Linked DNA regions of Homo sapiens: region 2 is linked to region 1. The links are contacts of gene promoters, found by promoter capture Hi-C in blood cells and fetal thymus (Javierre and others, 2016). All regions are on one chromosome and are shown on one strand. The core of a region is centred on a gene start or on the middle of the fragment in contact, and the rest is flanking DNA. Distances in the headings are between cores, read along the strand shown. Region 1 holds the start of GRM6 (glutamate metabotropic receptor 6). Region 2 overlaps ZNF354A (zinc finger protein 354A).

Region 1 (3,233 bases), core at 468-2,967:
CTTCACAGAGAGCCGGATGCACACAGGCCCCTCCCGCCACAGAACCCCAGAAAAACTGTCCCACAACCCCCAGTGAATGACCAAATCGAAAACCCCCAAACTTGTATGCCAAAGCCCTCCTAATCCCGATTCTGCTGGCCCCTAGGACTGCAAGGAACACGCTGCCCCTCACGGGACAGTTCCCTACATTTGAGGACAGAGCAGGGCCAGCCCGGGCACCTGCGCAGGGCAGGGTGCAGGAGACCAGAGCTCAGAAGGGAACGCCCCGCCCTGCTCTCAGATGCCCCTTGAGGGAGAGTTCAAGGCATTTTGAAAATAAATTTAAATGATCAAAAAAGAGAAAGACCAGACCTTTCAGGCCTATCCATCCCCCATAGCAGCCCAGGGACACGCCCCAGTTGCTGCTCTGGAAGAAGGGCCCGGGTTCCAAACAAAACTCAAAGTTGCAATATCACTCGAGCGCTCCGCAGGCCCAGGGGGCAGGAGCACCTTGTATGGTTGCAGGGGTGTGCCCAGAACAAGGGCACCCGAGCAGGCTGGCAAATGGGGGCTGAAGTCAGGCCGCCCTCCCCAGCCAACCGGCCAGAGGCGTAGGTGGCACCCGCCCGGGAAGGGGCGCCCTCGCGGGGCGGGGTAGACATGGGCGGCTGGAGTGTTTGGGTGGAGCCGATTCAGGCCTGCGTCGGGCTCAACTGACAGGGCTTCTTTGACGCTGTGTGAATTCGAGTGATTAAAACGGAGACTCTTTCAGAAGAAGTAAAGGAAGGAGACTTGGGCCACCCCAGGGCGAGGACGGGAGAGGGACGCTGGACACCGAGCCCGGCCCCGCGGCCCTCACCGCAAACAGGCGCAGCACGTTGGCGACCATGATGGAGACGGAGCTGGCCGAGGCGCCCACGACGGCCACGACGCGCTCGGGGGGCGCGGGGCGCAGCGGAGGGACGCCTCCCGGGCAGCGCACGCCCACCTCGTCGCCGTCGCCGCGGCCGCGGATCAGCGCCTGCACGAAGCTCAGCGCCTGCTCCAGCGCGTAGGTGTCCCGCGAGCAGGTGTCCAGCAGCCGCGCGCCCAGGCGCACGCCGGGCAGCAGCTCGGGGTCGGCGTTGACGCGGTCCAGCGCGTACAGCATGGCCTCCAGCCGGTGCACGCCCTGCTCCTTCTTCAGCTGCCCGCACGCCCGGCCCGCCGCGCCCCGCGCGTGCACCGGGAACAGGCCGCCCAGCGTCAGGCCGCCCGCCAGGCGCACAGAGCCCGCCGCGCGCGCCAGGCCCGCCTGCGCCAGCCACGCCAGCGGCAGCAGCGCCACGAGCAGCGGCTCCCGGGCTCTCCGGGGCCGCGCCATCGGCTCGTCTAGCGGGCTGCGGGGAGACAGAGGGGCGGGGAGCGCTCTGAGGGCGGGGGAAGGAGAGCGCGGGCTCGGGGCGCGGGGAGGGACACCGGGGTCCTGGGGAGAAGGCGCTCGGGGCGCGCCTTCCACTTCGGCTCTGGGGAGTTAGCTCAGCCGGCCTGCCCGGGCCTCCGTCTCGCTCTTACAAGCGCCGAACCCTGTCGCCCGGGGTCCCGCCCGACCACTGCCTCCACCCCTCCAGCCCTGCCGCTTCCCGACAGCTTGGCCCCTCTTCCTCGGGGTCCATCCCCAGCGCACACCCAGGCTCCCGCCCCAAGCCAGTCACCTGCGCCAGCCGCTGTCGGTTCAGGACAAGTCTGTGACAGATGCGGCCGAGGCCCTGAGCGAGAGAGGATTTAAGGATTCTAGGGAGGGATGAGAGACCGCTCCGAGGGTGGAGACCCCTCCTGAGTGTGGGGGGTGGCGGTGCTGGCTCTCCCCGCATCTCCTTCCCCTCCCTCTCCCAATCTCTGGGTCTGTTTTCCTGTTTTCTTGTCTTTGGTTTGCGTCTGACTCAGACTGTCTGGCTGTCTCTGGGGCTGTGTCTGACACAATCTCTGTCCATCTCTATCTCAGTCTTCTTCTGCCTCTAGGTCTCTGTTTCTCAGTCTCTGTCCCTGGCTTTCTGCCTCTGTCCTCTTCTTGGAAATCTTTTCTGTCTCTGTCCCTTCCTGTCTCTCCCTGCGGTTATCTCTCTCTGTCCCTGACCCCTTTTCTGTCTCTCTGTCTCTGTCCTGGCCACCAGTGCTCCTGACTGCAGTTGCCTAAGGTATTCCCCAGCTTTCTCCTTGCAGAACCCTGCAGGGGGCAGGGGCTGCCTGAGCTGGGAGGGCCTAAGGAAGAGGAGGAAGAGCGAGGGGCAGGAAGGGGCCAGGAGGGAGAAGCCTTTAGTATTAGCGAACTTACAACACCCTGCAGTCGAGAAACAGCCCTCGAGGAGTGAGTTGAGTTGCCCAAGTGCATGCAGCTGGCATGTGTGGGCATCAGGATTCACACCCAGAATGGCATGAAACAAACAGCCCACACTGCCTTGGATGGAGGGAGGGGAGGGGCCGGCTTTCCTCGCAGCTCCCACTCCCGCCTATTGCTTGGGAGGATGGAACCCCGCGGGGTCGTTCTGGCTCCGTATAAAGTCTCCTCGGGCTCTGGGTCTGAGGCAGCCACTCGAGCTGCGGTGCTCACTGTGCCAACGCTCTCTGCACCTAACTCCCCATCTCATCGTGGAGGCCAAGGTGAGGGGGCTTGGCCAAAAGATGCTTTTATCATCCCCCCATCCGAGGCCCAGGATTTGGCTCTCTGATGCCAAGAGAGCAAAGGGCGTCCTGGAGACAGGTGGTGAGCTCCTAGCCACAGGGATTAGCAGGCTCCTCGTCCGAGGGCCTGAGCCGGCTTGGGCTCCATTAGACAGGCTGGATTAGGGTGGCTGCGGGGATTTGGACAAGGCTGGTAGAGGGAGCAAGCAAGAAACATGCCACCTTTCTCTCTTCCCCCGCCTCTCCCAGGCCCCGATAGTTTCTACTGCCAGAACCACTTCTCCTGGTGGAAGCCCAGAGTCAACAGGCTGGGCCTAGCCCTGCTCCTATCCATTTTAACAGTGGGAAGGGTGGGGAGCTTGGCTGGTGCCAGGCCCTGAGCCTGACATTGCGAAGGACTGCATAAACTGGGTTTGGGAGGTGGATGGGCCCTTCCCTGTTCAGGACGAGCCTGACAGCTCCCAGCACACAGCAGCCTCCTGCTTGGCATGACCAAGGCAGCCACTGCCCCTGTCTGGAGGACAGACCATCAGGAAGCGGGGGCAGCAGCTGGGGGACTGGCAGGGGGTCCTCGCCGTGTAGGAGGGAGGCAT
Region 2 (3,233 bases), core at 425-2,924, 270 kb before region 1:
TGTTTTTTGAGAGACAGGGTCTTGCTCTGTTGCCCAGGCTGAAATGCACTGGTGCCATCATAGCTCACTGCAGCCTCAAACTCCAGGGCTCAAGCGATTCTCCCACCTCAGCCTCCTGAGCAGCAGGAACTACGGGTGCACACTGCCAAGCTTGGCTAATATTTTTATCTTGCGTAGTGACAGGGTTTCATTGTGTTGCCCAGGCTGCACATTCTCTTAAATCTCATCACTAAAATGTCTCTAATAAGCCATCGTGAATATGTCTAAGTTCAGGATCTCCTCACTGTAGAGTGACTTGCTCCTGATCTTAAGTTATTCCTTTGACCTGTTTCTTGCCTTTCCAGTATTATTTCCCACTGGATTTACCCCTCTTAATACACAGAATTGGTCATGTTATTTCAAAAAGCATTGGTCACGCCTTACTTTATTAATTTATCAAATATTTAAAAAGTACCTACTATGTATTAGGCTCTATCCTAGGCATCGGTGATCCACAGTTCCCTACGGATCCAGTAATTAAAAGGAACAGTTGATTTCTTCAGAGAGTTTATAGTCAGACATTAGAAATGAAGACATCAGTAGGTAATCACAATACAATGTGACAATTTCTACAATAGAAACATAAGCTAGAAATGGACGTGAACACGAGCTTAGAATCATATCCAACTGTCCTTAGATAGTGAGGGTGCAGGTAGAAAAGGGGTGCAGCAGGACGCTGCTGGAGTGTTTCGTAAGAATTGACATATAAGATAGGATGTGAAAGGAATCGCCATAGGCTAGATGAAGGGGTAGCACAAGGGCTGAAGGCAGCACCCAAGTCTTTGAATGCAAGTCAGTTTTCCAGACTTATTTGCTGAAGTATCCACCCCCACCTTATCCTATAGCTAGTCAGAGTAAAAGCTCCACCTATAAAAATGTCACTTGCGGCCGGGCGCGGTGGCTCACGCCTGTAATCCCAGCACTTTGGGAGGCCGAGGCGGGCGGATCACGAGGTCAGGAGATCGAGACCATCCCGGCTAAAACGGTGAAACCCCGTCTCTACTAAAAATACAAAAAATTAGCCGGGCGTAGTGGCGGGCGCCTGTAGTCCCAGCTACTTGGGAGGCTGAGGCAGGAGAATGGCGTGAACCCGGGAGGCGGAGCTTGCAGTGAGCCGAGATCCCGCCACCGCACTCCAGCCTGGGCGACAGAGCGAGACTCCGTCTCAAAAAAAAAAAAAAATGTCACTTGCATTTGCAGTCTCACAAGGTTTTCTAGAGTCAGAGAACTCAAGGAGCAATCTGCTGGGAACTGCACATAAACCATGATGGGGGTAGTACTGCCTATTTGTAAACATCCTCTATCATCTTTGTGCTGGTGGAAAAGAGAAAAGCTGTTTTAGAAATGTTGTTGTGGTAACTCTTATTTTTAAAGCTTTTAACATAGAAATTTTCAGCATATGTAAAAGTAGTGTGAATTGTACAGTGAATCTCCAGCCAGTTTCAATAACCAGCAACACTATTCTATTGACAACCTTGTTATGGGCTGAACCGCATCATTCAAAAGAGAGACGTAGAAGTCCTAACTTCCAGGACCTCAGAACGTGACCTTACTTTAAAATATGGTCTTTGCACGTTCAATCAAATTAAGATGAAGTCATTGGGGTGAGCCCTAATCCAGCGTGACTGCTGTCCCCGTAAACTGGGGAAATTTGGACACAGGCATCCAGAAGGAAAGATGATGTGAAGACACCGGGCGAACACAGTGTGAAGACGGAGGCACAGATAGGACTGATGCAGCTGCAGGCCACGGAGATCTCCAAGTTGGCCATCGCTACAAGCTAGCAAAAGGCAAGGAAGAATTCTATGCAGAGTCTCAGAGGGAGCGGGGCCCTGCGAATATCTTGATTTTGACCTTCAGAACTGTGAGACAGTAAATCTCTACTGTTTTAAGCCACGAAGCTTGTGGTACTTCAGTATGGAGCCCTAGCAAACTAACACAAACCCTTTCATCTCGTCCACTAGGTTATGCTAGAGCACATCCCAGACAGCAAAATCATTTCATCTGTAAAAACATCAAAACCGCTCTTAGCACATCCATCAAAATTAACACCACTGCTTGCAGTTACTTTTGCCCCTAGAATACCTACACTAATAAGTCAAACTGCTGCAATGTAAAGGCAATTCAAATAATTCTTTTTGTGGCTAAGCCACCAACCTGGAACACAATTAGGGTTGTTTCATTCTGCTTTCAATATGTAGGGGGTACTTTCTCATTTTTGTTTAATTTTGTCTTATAATTTTATAAACCATTTTTATAGTTCTGAAGTCAAAATTTTGAGACCTCAAAAAGTCATAGATTCTACCCCTGTTCCATCCTTTTTCTTCCTTCACCTTAGAGATAACCATTTTTATTGATCTCCTTTTTTTTCTTTTGCTTTTATCTTTCTAAAAAAAATAATTGCACTGCTTAATGACTGGGATATGTTCTGAGATACGCGTTGTTGGCGATGTTGTGCAGTCATCAGAGTGTGTTACACAAATCTAGATGGTATAGGCTACTACACACCTAGGCTATACCCCTATACAGCATGTTACTTAGCTGAATACTGTAGGCTACTGTAACACAATTGTAAGTATTTGTGCATCTCAACATATTAAAACATAGAAAAGGGACAGGAAAAATGCAGTATTATCATCTATGGGAGCATCATCATATATGTAGGCTATCATTGACTGAAACATTATGTGCTCCATGACAGTGTAAGTAAATACACACACACTTTTCTTGGTATTCCCACCCACCTTTCTTAGATAACAGTACTAACTGTGCTGTTCTGCACTTATTCTCACATTCTGGAGATCACTCCATAGTAGAAGTTACAGAGGTCCTCCTCATTCCACTTTACAGCTGTGTGGACGTACCACAGTTTATCATCCTTGGAGTGCCTTAGCTTTAGTTCTAGGCCCCCAGTTCTTCTCACTCTGCATCTTTCCACAGGCAACTTCAATCATAGACTCATCCTCTAAGCAAGATATCTCCCATACTCGACTCCCCCTTACAGACGACCTACTCAAAAGAGCAGTTCAGATGCCTCAAAGTCAACACACCTAAAACCACACTCACGATTCTTCCCTCCGACCTGGTCAACCCCTTGTCTCTGTAAATGGCACCACCTCTGAATCAAAACCTTAAGAGTTATCCTTAATAATTCTCCCTCCCTCAGCCCCCTCATCTAATCAATTACCAAGACC

What was found. Contacts are between HindIII fragments. The CHiCAGO score rates a contact against its expected background, and 5 or more counts as called.
Region 2: a contact is called between a fragment that was not itself captured here and the fragment with the promoter of GRM6 in region 1, in 1 of 17 cell types (megakaryocytes). The highest score is 5.5, in megakaryocytes.

What each region holds. Positions count from the first base shown.
Region 1 is chr5:178,993,603-178,996,835 of GRCh38, forward strand. It overlaps GRM6 (glutamate metabotropic receptor 6), which reads right to left and starts at 1,718. Exons shown (of 11, transcript NM_000843.4): 1 at 1,674-1,718; 2 at 839-1,358. The coding sequence starts at 1,342. The HindIII fragment of the contact is 9,329 bases long and covers 1-3,233 here.
Region 2 is chr5:178,718,741-178,721,973 of GRCh38, forward strand. The region is part of intron 4 of ZNF354A (zinc finger protein 354A); the gene reads right to left. Among named protein-coding and RNA genes, the nearest start is that of ZNF354A, 10 kb to the right of the region's middle. The HindIII fragment of the contact is 527 bases long and covers 1,412-1,938 here.